Linked DNA regions of Homo sapiens: region 2 is linked to region 1. The links are contacts of gene promoters, found by promoter capture Hi-C in human tissues and cell types (Jung and others, 2019). All regions are on one chromosome and are shown on one strand. Each heading gives the region's core, a stretch centred on a gene start or on the middle of the fragment in contact. The rest is flanking DNA. Distances are from core to core; before and after follow the strand shown. Region 1 holds the start of OSBP (oxysterol binding protein). Region 2 overlaps LOC105369315 (a long non-coding RNA gene).

Region 1 (7,685 bases), core at 1,543-4,042:
ACAGGCACAGGCCTCCATGCCCAGCTAATTTTTTTGTTTTGTTTTGTTTTGCTTTTGTTTTTAGTAGAGACAGGTTTATTTATGTTGCCCAGACTGGTCTCTTATCTTTCTTTTTTGCTGAACCATTTCAAAGAGAGTTACGGATATCATAACTCTTCACTCCTACGTTTCTCCAAGTTGTAAAGATGTTTTCCCCCATGTCCAGCATACCATTATTACAATGAACAAATGTAATAACTAACAACATCTGATACCAGTCCATTTTCAAATTTCCCCAATTGTCTCAAAAATGTCTAAAAGCCTGCTTTTTCAGAACCAGAATCCAATTAAGCATTTGATTGTATCTCTTTAAGTTTTTTTTCAAATTTAGAACAATCACCCCTGACCATTTTTATGACATTGATTTTCCTTGATCTTTATGTCTTATCTTCTATAAAATAGTTGTCTTATAGAATGCTTCACGTTCTTGATTTATCTGATTATCTCCTTGGGGTTATGGTTCAACTGGTTCCTCCAGCCCAGTAAACTGGAGTTTAGATCCAAAGCCTTGATTAGATTAACTTTCAGTATTTTGGCAAGAAAACACCATTAAGTGATGCTGTATACTTTATGCTGCAGCACACTGGGAACTTCATAAAAATGTTGGTTGTCCAAGGGTTACTGATACACATTGGATAACTGGGTTAAGGTGGGGACTGCCAGATCTCCCCATTGTAAAAGTATGTTTCTCCTTTGTGATGGCAAGTAACCTGTGAGATGTGTTTGGCAACACAACTCACATGTTTGTAGCTATCTACAGTTTATCAAACACATTCAAACGCACTTAATCACAACAGCATCCCTGTGAGGTTTTATTCCTGTTTAACATAAGTGAAAACTGAGACTTGGAGTGCTTAAATAATTTTCTCAAAGTAATAGACCCAGTAAGTAGCAAAAGCAGGACTCAAGCCTAAATGGATTAACTCTAGCTCAGTTAAAAAAAAAATTAATCCCAAATAGCCTACATCTAATAGCAGATTTTATTTTGCTCTACACATTCAGAGAAATTCACTAGTAATGAGCTATACAAATGATCCCTGATAGTAAAAATTGCAGATTTTTAAAGAGTATTCTCTCTCCAGAATTCAATAAATACTTCGCTTCTTTTGAAACGATTTTCTTAAAAAGGATACTTTAATTTATTGACACTGGGAAGCACATTGGCAAAGAAAGTCAATTTCTTTTACAGTATCTAATAGCTATTTCTATTGCCTGTTCAAACTAGCAAAATGTAACAGATGCTAGATTCCCTAAAGTACGGCGCTTTAGGTTACATTTGCAACAATAGCTTACATCTAAATGTTACATTAGTTACTGAATTTGTAATCTTCACAAATGTGTGAATAGTCAGTTGATCAAAAATAACGATTTCCTGCTACAAGAGAACGCATAGCAGAAAATGTTCCCAACACAAAGATAATGTTTGAGATGATGGATATCCCAATTACACTGATTTGATAATTATACATTGAATACATGTATCACAATATCAGATGTATCCCTGAAAATATGTACAACTATATCAGTTTAAAGATATAAAAAAAATTTTCTGTCCAAAGTTAAATATGTACAACTACGATATATCAGTTTAAAGATACAAAAAATAATAATTTTCTGTTCAAAGTTAAGCATATACATGGCACCTATGATGCTAAAACCAAGGGCCTTTAGGTCTGGAAGAGACACATAAAGTCAGGTCCTCGCGAATCTACTTCTGAAGGGGACAGAATCGGTATAGGCATATGACAGTCTAGAATCAAGACACAAGGGGTGTGGAGCGATAAAGAGCAAACAGGGAAGGGAACTAGGGGGACCATGGATCCAGGAAGGGGCTGGAAAAGCTACTTCTGGGCACCCCTGGAATCTGGGTATCCAGCTTCGAGTTAGAAGGGGGTCCTTCAAGAGAGCCTCAGGCGGGGGCTGACTGCCGAGAGTTACTCTGTCCTCCAGGTTCTTCCTAACAAGAAGCTACGAAGTTCTTATTCAGAAAAACGGAACACGACATCACACCCACGTGAAAAAAACGCTTTTAAGAGGCCAAGTCACTTTCACCTCCCACCAACTTGCCAAAGGCTGAAAGCAGGCGGACACGCCCCCAAGCGCTCTTCTCCGATTTCATTGGTTGCCCCGGCCTGCTCCTCATTAGGTCTCTCTCACTGGTCAGCAATGCCGCTTTCACAGCCAATTCTCAGAACCAATCATCTCCAACTATTGCCCCGCCTCTCCACCACGTGAGTGGCATAGGTGCCAACCAATAAAAAAAGAAAATAAGGATGTAAAGACGAGACTCCTTCCCTTTTTCCTCAACTCGTTCAGTAAATGGTAGAAAAGGTGGAGCAGCTGATACCAACCACCAATCCATGAGGGCGGAAAAGGATGATGAGAAGAGCGATGGGAGGGGGTGACGTGGCAGTGACAGGCGCATAAACTGAAATGAATGGCGGAAACAGCAGCCAATCGGCGATCAGATTGGCCGGGCATTCCGCATTCTCCCGTCCTCCCTGAGCGCTGGAAACTTCAGGAAAGCACCAATGAGCTTCCCCAAAAGTCTGATTGGCCTTTATCTGAACCAATCAAAGGTGGGTCTGGCGGACGCGTCCCACCCCAGGCTCTCACTGGGCGCTGTAGAATGACAGGCCCGAGAGAAATGCCAATATCCGCGGGGTCTTCCTCAAGTGACACTCAGCGGCACCAATCGACGTCCTTCTTCCCGGCGGCCGAGCCCTCCTCCCCGCGGCTGGCCGGGCGGGGCGGGGACGCTGCGCGGCGGTGGCTGATGCGGTAGCCGTGTGGGGCGCTCCGGGCGGCGACGGCGGCTCTCGTAGGCGGTTCCGGTCTTGTATCTCCAGGCGGCGGCGGCTCATGGCGGCGACGGAGCTGAGAGGAGTGGTGGGGCCAGGCCCGGCAGCCATTGCAGCACTTGGCGGCGGCGGCGCCGGTCCCCCAGTGGTGGGAGGAGGCGGCGGCCGCGGAGATGCGGGGCCAGGCTCCGGGGCCGCGTCAGGGACGGTGGTCGCGGCGGCGGCGGGAGGCCCGGGCCCGGGGGCCGGGGGAGTGGCGGCGGCTGGCCCGGCCCCTGCGCCGCCGACTGGGGGCTCGGGCGGCTCGGGCGCTGGGGGTTCGGGCTCGGCTCGAGAGGGCTGGCTCTTCAAATGGACCAATTATATCAAAGGCTACCAGCGGCGATGGTTCGTGCTGAGCAACGGGCTCCTGAGCTACTACAGGTAACTGCTTCCGGGGCGCTGTCGCTCACCTTGCCTCCCCCATATCTGCCAACAGTCCCAGCTCCGGCATTACCGCCAGCCGGCACCGCAGCCAGGGTTGCCCCAGGCCCCTTTTCGTCATCTGTGCGGATTGACAGCCCAGGGGTCGGAGCCCACTGTCACGAAAGTGAAAAGCCCCTGGACGTACACCTCCCCTCCCCTCGGGTTACCCACTCTTGGTGCCTTATCTTCCCTTCGCTCCCGGCCTTTCCAGTCATTAGTCGTTTGGAGAGCGTCTGTGCTTCCATTGTATTTCCACCAGCACATGGGTGCAATTATTAATTCTGCAAGCAAGGCACTGGTGTAGGTACTAAGGGAACACATGCAGCAGAACAAACCCGAGGCACTCCTCCCAAGGAACTTACAGTGGAAGTCCCAAGTTGTAGCTGTCAGTGCCCAGTCTCCAAAACTCAAGGTTATTCGTAGCTCTGGATGTACCCGTCCTTGCTCCCTTCACATTCAGACATAAGGGCATCACACACACAGGGTGGCTTCGGTATTCCGTCCCCTTTCTGCCTTATCTCTCCAAGACTTTGCATGTGCTTTGGCCTCTGGACAGCCCAGAATGGAGATGTGCACCCCAGTGCTGCTTTTATTTTTGCTTGCCCCACCTCCTCCCGTGGAAATGATTAAGTGTTTTATCTGGCATTTCTGTGATTTTTTGGTTAGTTAGGATTAACTTTTATTAAAAGAAGAATCCATGTCTTTGGTGTGATTACTTCTGTTCAACAAGGTTTATTTTGGACTGTTTAATATATATTTATGGTGACTCATAACCTGGCCATCACATGGCACGCTTTTGGGCTAAAAAGGATAGAGGAGTTAAGATAGGTGATTTGGGGACAGGGCGTAAACATTTCCTGAGGGCTGGACAATGTGTCTAGGTGTTTTATATACAGTATTTCATTATAGTATTTTGTTGACTCCCAACAACAACCCTAGGAGTTGGGAAATATTCCCATCTTACTGATGAGGAAAACAGACTTAGCATGGGCAACTTTCCCAAGGTTTTTGAGCAGCTGGGATTTGAAACTACTTCTGTTCACACTAATCTAACCTAAAACTCAGGTTAGTGTGAAATGAATCGGTCAGTTACAGAGATAATTGCTTATCAATAGCAAGTAATTTTATGGATCATGCTTACTATGTGTATTTTATGCAAAAAGTATAAAAGTCTCCTTTAAGGGATATTTTGCTTAATGACATTCCAATTGAAATATTTTTTTCCAGAGACCATCCTCTTTGAGACCCAAAACACTGATGTTGAAGAGCAGCTCACTCTATATTTCTTTTCCTTCACCAGGAATCATTCTGCTACCCAGAGAGTTAGGCTGAACAAGTCTCTTTTCCATCAACTCCACTGTATTGGCTCTTAGAGAATTTTGAGGAGAAATTGAAGGTGGGAGTTGGAGGTTGTTGGCAGGAACACATTTTTACCTGTCCTCTTACAGGGCAAAATGCCTTAGATAGCTCATCCTCACTGCTTAATCAACAGTTGTGAATAATTGTATATTTCATTTGCATTACTGTATTCAGAATTGATTTTAATTATGACCCTTTCGAACTACTTATCCAGGACCATCCATTTAAACTTAGATTACAAATCTAAAATTTTAATTTCCCCAGATTTTTCTCTCATTCAAGTTCATGTTTTCCTGTTATTATTGACCATCATTTTAATGTTTAATTGATTTATATCCTGACTTGTGTCGCAAGTCAATATTAATACTGTTTTTGCATTTTCAAAAATTGTATATCACCTCAGGGCCTTCGTATGTGGTCATTTCTCATCCAAGTTCTTACCGGATCCACTTTCCAGGCCAGTTGATTCTTTGATCAGTACTAGTGTTGATCAATAGTGATCTTAGACACTAATAACTTACATGTTGCTGTCTCTTTAAGTATTTGTTACCACTTTTAACTTCTCCCTTACAAGAGCTAGTGGTACCTGTCTGACTACATATAAAACTCCTTCCAAAACATACCAAACCACATATTGGGAAATATGCCATAGGCCTGCCCTAGTCAACTTAGGTGGTCCCACCCATAAACAAACCAGCGGGATCCAGAGTTATCAATCTGTGCACTACCCTCAAAATTGCACTGAAATACCTCCTATCAAGTATACTGGCAGTTTATTTTTTCCTGCAGGATTCTTCTGGTCCTCATCTTCCTCCAAGAATTATTTAGACAAGTTGTCATTCCTCCTGCTTTTCATACCTCCAAAACCTGCAGTTTCTTATATATGCTGTTTCCAAAATACTGTTTTCCTTTTAAGTGGGATTGTGTACTTCCTAGACCCATCCTCGGATGAGCTGTCCTAATAGGCCTTGGCAAACCACTTCCTTTACCTATCCTGGGCTTCCTTACGTACCCAGTTACTTAGATGTCCCATTACTTAAAACCTTATATGGAATCCCAACTCTCCCAGAAACATTGTGACAGGCCATAGTATTAGTTCTCCTGGCTAGCTTCTAGAGATTGAATTACTATTTCAGCTAGCCTTTTCAGGGAAGAACTTTCTGGCCAGAAAATACCACCTAATATTGTAGTGCCTGAAGAACCTATCTTGTACCCTGAGATTCATGTCTTTCCAGCTTCTGCACTAATCATTTATAATCATAAGTGTATCTGCCCAGACTCAAGAGCTCCGAGATCAAGTCTGCCTTACTCCCAGAGTTCCTTGGTATTTTTTAAACTGCTACAGACTTTTTGTAATTTGAGAAACTTCTTTAGTTTACAATGATGACCCAGGCAGAAGAGATTCCTACAATGATGACCCAGGCAGAAGAGATTCCTAAGAAGTGGTTTCCAAAAAGCTCCAATAAGGAGGAATGTGGAGGAAGGTCCAAGTAGTATACTTGGAGTAGAAAACATGAGCGAGCTGGCCTGTCAGCTGTGCATCTGTAATTCAGCCTGCATTATTCATAATGTAACTGAAGCTTGGGGGTGGGGAGGTAAGAATAGAAAAAACGGATTCATGTTACAGTGTGGCAGGTGCAGGAGATGGAAAATGGCCCAGTTCATTGAGACCCTTCTGGCCTTCCCATACTATTTGAGGAAGGAAGAGCAGTTCATGTGAAAAATTGAACAACAAACCTGTCTTCCAGACTTTCTCAAACATACCAAATCTTATGGGGTGTGTGCCATTTCTGGCATGCAGGAATTCTGGATATGCCAGGTGTGTTTGGCTGCTTGACTCCACTGAAAGGGAAATGGCTCTGCTTTGTACTGTGGCAGTTGGCAAAGGACTTTGACCTCTGTGTTCCAATTTGGACAGGGAAAAGTGCAGTCTCAACATGCAGGTTCCTGGGCATAACCAGCGGGTGGTAGGGAAATGACACAGTTTGTGTTAGACACTCGATTGTGCTAGAAGCTTGATATTTTATGTGAAGCTTGGTATTCTATGTGAAGTGTCTTATAGCTTGTTGTCACCAAGTAATGCTGTAAAGTTCAAAAGTTAGTCTATTAATAGAACTGTCAGTCACTAGAGATCGGGAAAATTTTTACACCCAGTTCTCTGAGAGCAGATCTGCTGAATCTTTCCTAGCTATTAATAGACGGCTTAGGAGTTCCCACCAGTAGAGTATGGTGGACCTTAGGAATGAACATATTCCAGAAAGATTAAAACACTTGGTGATTCCTTTTTACTTCCCCAGAAAGCTAGTTATTCTTATTTCATATCATTTGAACCATAGCCAATATTTAATACTCTAAACATTTAAGGGTGCTTTTTTTACACTTCTGCGATATAACTCTAAGCATGATGTAACATTGGGCTGAGTTCTCATTTGGGCTGAGTTACAGTCGGGAGCGAGATGGTTTGGTATATATAAAATAGAGCTATTCTTAGGAAATGAGATTGTTGCATGAGGTTATAGGGCAATTTATAATTACAACTTGCTAAGTAAAAGATAATTCCTGACTGCAAAAGGGCATGAAGGAACTTACTGAGATGATAGAAATGTTCTACATCTTGATTGTGGTGGTGGTTATGCACTTGTGTACATTTGTCAAAACTCATTCAGTTGTACCTTTAAAATTGCTAAATTAACATTGCATGTAGTTATACCTCAGTATAGCCTATTTCTTTCTTTCTTTCTTTCTTTCTTTTTTTTTTTTTTTTTTGAGACGGAGTTTCGCTCTTGTTGCCCAAGCTGGAGTGCAATAGTGGGATCTCAGCTCACTGCAAACTCCGCCTCTCAAGTTCAAGCGATTCTCCTGCCTCAGCCTCCTGAGTAGCTGGAATTACAGGCACACACCCGCACGCCTGGCTAATTTTTTTGATTTTTAGTAGAAACAGGGTTTCACCATGTTAGCCAGGCCGGTCTGGAACTCCTGACCTCAGGTGATCTGCCCACCTTGGCCTCCCAAAGTGCTGGG
Region 2 (7,685 bases), core at 2,027-4,526, 520 kb after region 1:
GGGTAATTTGCATTTGTCAGAAGTGAGGCCAGTCACCTGGTCAACAACCCCTCCTGTCGCTCTGTGACCCTCCCCGGGCGTCCGCGGTGCTTCTTTACTTGCATCTTGTGGGAATGACATCTGCGCAGGCAGCCCCTTTTTAGCACCGCTCCTCGCACGCGAGCCCAGCCCTTAAAAACCCAGCCCAGCCCCGGGTTTGCAGATACTCAGGGCAGGGGAAGGCGCCTTTCCGCATTTGGTGTAGTCCCGCATGCTGCCATTTGATGTCGCGGGAGAACGCGCCTACAGGGATAGGGCGGGGCAAGGAGGCGAGGAAGGAAAAAAAGCGACAAGTGAAGACTGACATCCATTAAGGTCAATGGTAGCTCAATCTTCGGTTCTCTGACTCCCAAGCTTCCCATTCTCTTAGGAGGCTGCATTTGTGGCGCTAAAAAAAGGGATGGGCGTGGGAGATTCCAGGACATGTGCTCGCTGAAGATACAACTGTTAGTCCAAGGTAACTCCCACTCGTAGTGGCTCAACCCTCTTTGTCAATTCACCTTCCTCTAAGTTAACTATGGCTGCTCCACCTGTCTTTAGGGAAACCTACTCCCCATCGCGCTGGGTATTTTGGATTTTTTAAAAGCGTCGCGGGGTAAAGTCAGTGTTGTGCTTTTCCTTTTCTCAGCAGGTAAGTATTTCTGGCGCTGACAGCGGAGAGCTGCCGGGCGGGAATAGGGGTGAAGAGAGAATAGGGAGAGAGATAACAGGTGTGAAGCGTCCCTCAATGCCAGGCATCCTGCTTTGGCACCTTCAGTAAGTTTGTCTGAATCATCTTTCTATTGAATTCACTTTCTGTTTCACAGATTAGGAAACCTCAACTAAGTGGCCCAAGGACAGTCCTTGGATAATTTTAACTTGTGTCAGAAACCAAAGCCTAAGGTCTTTTATTTTGCAGAGGCTGCTTTGGCAGGATTTCAATGCATGCAGGTCCTGCGAATCACTGCTCCTCACTCACTGATCCATCCCGCTGTCCACACATTCATTCACCCATTCATTTCTTAGGGGCTCATCTGCAAGGCGTGGGGCTGGATGATACTAAAAATACAAAAGGGACTCTGATGTAAAGTAGAAGAGATTTTTTAAAAAGATTTACCCAGAATTCCGGTGCTCAGCATGGTTTCGATTTTTCCCCCCAACATACTATTGATACCTGTTATGTTCCACATAATATGATGGATTCTGAAGATACAGAGATGGGTGAGACCTATCCTTGCCTTTCAGAAGCTCGTTGTCATAGGCAAGAGTAATCTCTGAGGTTAAATTTTAGATATCTATTTTTTAACAAATTGAGCATCAACTCTATATATTCTACTGTAATTAATGTACTAAATAATTAAATATTACACACAATTTCTTATTTTTTAGATGAAGATGAATCTAAATGGTGGTTCAAGTATGTCCTTTGTTGATCCTAGTGGACCATCTTGGGTGCTTCAGACTGAAACTCTACCCTCCTGTTATGTGCTTGGCTCTATTCCTTCTTTCTGCAGCTCTCTGTCAAATGCCAGGCTTTGAGGGAGACCAGTCCTGACCCCTTCCTGTTTTCTCTCCTTTTTACCTGCTCCTATCTGAGGCCTCTTTTCCTATTTATTTGTTGTTCTTTCTCCCTCCATCATCTTCTGTCATCAAATCATGTGTTTTTTTTTCATATACTACATCTGAGTTTATAGGGAATATGTTCAGAGTTGTTTTAATTTTTGGTTTAGTTTCTGCCTCCCTGCTCCAGAATGTAAGCTTCAAGAAGGGCAGTGAGGAGTTCTTAACACCCGTCACTGCCTGAGAAACGGTTGGGGATGGAGGAAGACAGCTTTGCCGGGTACATCCTGAAATCCCCTGAGGTGGGGGTGGGAGTGGAGGGAAGATCAGGGAATGTCCATTCATTTTATGAAGTTGAAGTTGGGTTAAATCCTATTATATCCTGTGTTGTTGTTTGTTAATCTCAACTTGAAGCCCTCATCGCTAGTCATCCACTTTTTGCTAGCTTTGTGACCTTGAATGAAGGTTCAAGGTTACCTTGTTTCTTTGTACCTTTATATCTTATGTATAAAGTGGAAAATTATATTTGGTCATCCTAAAATGTGATGTCATAGGGAATCAGTCACTTGAGGGTAAAAGACAAATCAATTTATAAGGCTGCAGAAATTACATTCTTGTGAGGGTCAAAGAAAGATATTTGTGGATTTGAGAGTCTTCAGATATTATATTGGTAGCATATTTACATGCAGAAAATACTGAAGAAGCAATTTTAACTAATCAAATAGGAACAGAGATTTCAGATAGGAGCAGAAAATAAGGAGAGGAAACAGTGGTGAGTAAAAAAAAATTGACAAATTTTATGTAGAGAATTAACTCTAAATGGACAATGATAGGCTCTCTGGGAATGTGTAAGAAAAGTTTTAAAGAAGGATTCTTTAAATGGATGCGACACACTGCAAGGGAAATTCTGTGACACCTGGAACTAAAACACATGGAACTAAAACATCGGTCTCAGGGGGTTGAACGGTAGAGGAATAAAAGCATTTTGTATCACTTAGCACACTCGTCTGGATCAGAGGAGGGAGCAAAACAGGGAAATGAATCTATTGGAAGATATCAACTTATTGAGGTAAAGGAGGAAATGGTGAATAGCTGTTACTTTATTTTATATAATAGTAAAAAAATTTGTGTTCAATTATGAGCACTAGAAACAAATACCAGTGATTGAATAAAAAGTTAATAAGGGAATATGATGTATAAGTGAGTTAATAAGAGAACTTGAGGGATAAGTGAATTAATAAGAGTCCACAGTGGAGGCAATTTCCCCTTTTGAAAAACATTATCTTTTGAATATATGCAGGATATACTTTGCAAAAGAAAAAAAGTGTATATTGGGGAAAGAATTTTCACTCATTCTCGAGACACTCAATACTTTTCCCTAGATAATCTATGGCTATAAAAGCATAATAATGCCTTTTTAATATATTTTCCCAGCAACTAAGAAGTTCAGTGTTTATAATTGTAATAAGAAGCGTGCTGATCTGGCCTGAAATATAGTTTTACTTTAGATATATGTCTCATAAATAGTATTTGAGAAGTCAGGGAATATGCTTAGAAAGGGATTACCAAGGCCCTATAACACATGAGTTTGAGGGCACAGGGAGATTAAGATTTAGAACAAAGTTAGGTGAAATCTAGGGCCAAAGGATAGCAGGGTGTGTGTGTGTGAGTGTGTGTGTGTGTGTGTGTGTGTGTTGGGTGGGGCAGGTGGGAACCTTTGGAGAATGCCTGTAGGCTGCTAGTGAGGTGCTATGATCTCTAGACCTTGGTAGGTCCTTGCAAAGAGACATGGTTCTGAAAGGTTGGCACCCTTATAGGTTCTTAAAATATTTTCGTTATCCATAGGGGTGAACCTGGAGATCATTACCAAAGTTTAAAAATTTCACCACTGGGCACACAGGTTACCCTTCTCGTGGTGGCATGGCAAAGCTTGATTTGCAAGAGTTTCTTTTGGATTGTCCCCAATGATTCCCTTTAAAAATAGGAGCTCCTTCAGGGTAAGGAAGGAAGGAGAAAATATCCCTTCTAACCTATTTTCTCTTTTTCATTCCAAGGACTCTGGAAAGGCACAGCAGGTTTGGTTTTGAAATCTGTAGAATTTTAGTGCTCTCCATTCTCCCAAGTAGATGACTTTAGTGAAGGTAAAAGGAAAGACTGTTTGCTGTGTCAAGGGAAGATTCATATGCAAATCCCAAGACTCAGATGTTATTTCAGAAGAGTTGGTGTCCATAGTAAAGTAGAACTGGCCCGGGTTCATCTGCCTACAAGGGCAATTGTCTGAGGCAAATATGAGGAAACTGGCAGAACAGGAGGGGTGGAATCTTCCTGGGAGAAAGAGTAAAGAGAGTTCTAGGTGGAGAGGGGATCAATATGTTGAGCAAACACCTGGCTGTCTTCTTAGTTCCTATATGAAATCATGGAAAAGACTTTAGAACAAAGAATAAATATGTCATAGCAGGAAAACAAAGAGCAGTCTTTTGGCCAGAAATAGAAACTGTTAAAAAGAAAAACAAACCAACAACAAAAAAAAAAACACCTTTAAGTTTGAAAATGACAGAAGTTAAGAAGTGGAAAGTTGCCTGGGATATGCTTTTATTGCAGCCTCTCTAGTAAACCCGTCCCCACTTCATCTTTGTGTCTTTGCTTATCCTAAGCAGCATGGTGGCAGCCATGGCATTCTTCAGGCTGAAGTGGTCATTTTTGGCACTTGGGCTTGAGATGGCAGTGAAGCGGCATCGTTTGTCTGGGGAAATGCCAGAGGTTTGCTGTCTCACAGTATGGAAATTGTAGATGTGGACACCAAAGGAGTGGGTTTAAGAGCAAAAGTTTAATAGGCAAAAGAACAAAGAGAGAGTTTCCTCATGCATTGGAAGGGTGCCTGAGCAGGTTTCCGGGTTTGGGGCGAGTTGTGGTTGGTTTTATAGAGGAGCTTGAGGAGGCAGTGTCTGATTTACATAGGGCTCAGAGGGTTGGTTGGAGCAGGTGTGCTATTTATGTGATGCACGAAGAGCCTGGCCATCCCACATGAATCTTTAGTATGCAAACGGGGCCTCTACCTGGCCTGTGCCGTGTCGCCTGCACAAGTGAAGACAAAGAAAAGGAAATAGGCGGCCAGGCGTGGTAGCTCATGACTGTAATCCTAGCACATTTGGAGGCCAAGGACGGTGGATCACGAGAGGTCAGGAGTTCAAGACCAGCCTGGCGAAGATGGTGAAACCCTGCCTCTACTAAAAAAACACGAAAAAAAAAATTAGCCATGCGTGATGGTGGGCACCTGTAATCTCAGCTACTCAGGAGGCTGAGGGAGAGAATTGCTTGAACCCAGGAGGGGGAGGTTGTAGTGAGCTGAGAATGCACCACTGCACTCCAGACTGAGTGACAGAGCAGGATTCCATCTGAAAAAAAAAAATAGGAAGAGGAAACCTCTATGTTGAGTACGCCTGACTTCCAGGTATCCCTTTTCTATTTGCATAGGTGCCGGCATTTACCTATGCAAGCTTTTAGCATGCTTGCGGCTTGATTTTTTAGGCTGATTTTCGCTAGAAAAGCGATTATATGGGGGCTGCTTTTTATTAAAAGAAAAACCTTACTGAGGACTCTCTTACCTACACTAACTGCTTAATAATTTCTTTTTAGCTCCTGTATCAGCAGTGCTTGTGCCTGATAGGTGATGATCATGAGGGGGACCAGGAGCCTCTAGACTTAAGAGACAAGTTGCCAGCATTCTCCAGATGGAGTGTTTCCCTCCCCAGCACCACCTGCTGGTCAGTTTGACAAGCAGATGAAGGGAAGTTCTCAAATACACAATAAGCAGATAACCCCAACATCACCAGAAATAGCAAGTTGTGATGGCAGTTTGTCAAATTGTCTTTATTTTTTGTCAGCATCATCTGTTGCTTTCTGAGGGAAGTTTTTTGAGTTCTCCCACTGAGACTGTGGATTTGCATTTTTCTTTTGTATGTCTGTCAGCTTTTGCCATGTATAGTTTGTAGTTGTGTTGTGTTGTGAGGCAGATTCATGACCTATGTTGTGGGAGAATTTCTGTATTTAGCAGATGTTCAACTTACGTTCTATTTTGCCAAGTGTTGATGGTATTACTTTGCTTTTCAGTTTCACGTTCATTTAGTATATCTTCTTCCTTTCCGTGAACCCTTGTGTGTTGTTTATTTCAGATATGCTTCCTTATGAACTGACGGTGACTCCCAAATTCATATGTTGAAGACCCAACTCCCAACGGACTTGGAGGTGGGCCTTTGAGAAGTAATTGGGTTTAGATTAAGTCATAAGGGTGGAGCCCCCTTGATGGTATTAAGTCCTTCTAAGAAAAGGAAGAGAGTCTGAGCTCTCCTCTGTCTCCACCATGTGAGGGCACAGAGATGTATGCTTCTTGGATTTTGTTTTTAACTCAGTATGAAAAACATATATTTTAATAAGAAAATTACCCCATTCATTGTTAGTGTGTTTATTGATAATGTTGGACTTACTTGTGCCATATTTAAGAAATCCTCTTTCATCCTTCCCATGCTTTCTTGTTGTTTTTTTAATGCAAGTGCATGATAAGGTTTAGGGATCACTTTTTTAACAGGTCCACGAAGGGCTAGATAAGGGAAGCTGGTTTGCGTTCAGGGAAGCGGCAGAGGAGGGAAGCTGGCAGCTGGGCTGTGCTAAGATGACCTTAGCCCCAGACCCTGGATGAACATCCTCTTCTGGATACAGGACCTGCCCGAGGCATCATTTTGAAATAGTCAAATTTTATTTGCTTTGTGTTCTTTCATCACATATATTAGCTTTTGCCTCTTGAGTGCCAAAATATAGCTGTTTTTATATTACCCCAAGTTCCTGAGTTTATTTTTTAGGTAAGAATTTTCCACCCTTTGAAATCCCAAATGACATGTTTACTCTCTTTCTCAGACCATGCTTTCATTTCAGTCAATGTAACAAATCAGCCAGGTCTCAGGAGTTTAGAAATCTGATTGGATTGATTTATACTAAGCGGTAACAGATCTACCACAGCCTTCTAAGATGAATTGGAGTTTCTTAAAAACTCCATGACCTACACTATTCTTTAGGTGCTGGAATTGCACACTTTCAAATCACATCAAGTATAAACATTCAATTTTGTGGGGGGTTATTTTCTATGGAGAGATGAGGTGTTGATTAATACTGGTAGGCTTTACTCCAAAAGACAATTCTATTAAGATTTCTTTTGTTTTTTAAAATCTAGACTATCAGAAGGAGTAAAAATGCCAATTTTTTTTTTCTTTTTGCTGTGGCTACAATGTTCACAGTAATCCAAGCTCCAATGACAGGGGGGGAGAGCGGAGCCAAATGAGGCCCCGTTTTTTTCATGAAGTGTATTTTTCTTTTTTTTTTTGAGATCAGGGGTTCAGAAATTGTAATATAAGTGTTCAATTATAAAGTTATTATGATAGTGCATGGCACGTGTCCTTTCCATCATCTGGATTTTTCCACTTTTACTGTATGGCTCACTCTTACTCACTCTCCAGTCTTCACCTTAGTGGTCACTTCCCCCTGAAATGCCCTTGACCCCTTAAGATAGCAGTGCTGCAAACATCGTAAGCTGAATTTATAGCCAGACTCACAGGCAACACCTTATCTTGTGCCATGCTTCACTAATGATGAGGAAGTGAGAAAGAGTAGGGGAAAGGAGGCACAACAAATGTCATTTCCATAACAGAGGCCTCAAGGCCAGCCCACTTGATTCTCTGGAGATCCTTTTCTGCATAACAATGATGAAAGGTAGCCTAAGAAAGCCATTTGTCTGAGGCTTCACCTTTGATACCTTGCTAGACACTAAACTAAGAGACTGATTCCATTCTTTAGTATAGCCATTGCCTCATAAATCCATACATAACAGGGGTATTTCTTTCCAATAAAGTATCCATATAGATTAGGTATATTCTATTGACAATTTTATTAAAGTTCTTCATTTATCTTCCAGATAGTAGATTCTATCAACCAAGTTTCATAAAGAGTTCTGATTCCCAGAGGTAAGAACTGAGCCTGGCTTTCTAGTTACATGTTTATTGGTAACTCTGTCCTTCCCTACAACACTTAAGCATATTTAAAGACTATACCCTCCCCTG

Evidence for each region. The method cuts DNA at HindIII sites, captures the fragments that hold promoters and counts their contacts. A contact is called where the count stands out against the background at its distance.
Region 2: a fragment that was not itself captured here is called in contact with the fragment with the promoter of OSBP in region 1 in 1 of the 25 tissues and cell types used here (aorta).

The regions. Positions count from the first base shown.
Region 1 is chr11:59,610,881-59,618,565 of GRCh38, reverse strand. OSBP (oxysterol binding protein) reads left to right here and starts at 2,792. Exons shown (of 14, transcript NM_002556.3): 1 at 2,792-3,263. The coding sequence starts at 2,902. LOC101927226 (a long non-coding RNA gene) reads right to left here and starts at 2,612. Exons shown (of 3, transcript XR_001748237.2): 1 at 2,391-2,612. RefSeq lists an enhancer at 2,330-2,419 and silencers at 2,620-2,919, 2,940-3,159. The HindIII fragment of the contact is 17,268 bases long and covers 1-6,461 here.
Region 2 is chr11:59,094,976-59,102,660 of GRCh38, reverse strand. It overlaps LOC105369315 (a long non-coding RNA gene), which reads left to right. Exons shown (of 3, transcript XR_007062680.1): 1 at 1-5,029; 2 at 5,215-5,342; 3 at 5,751-6,407. Among named protein-coding and RNA genes, the nearest start is that of FAM111B, 8.4 kb to the left of the region's middle. RefSeq lists enhancers at 11-130, 1-141, 4,732-4,901, 7,024-7,615 and a silencer at 5,515-5,624. The HindIII fragment of the contact is 7,120 bases long and covers 1-6,836 here.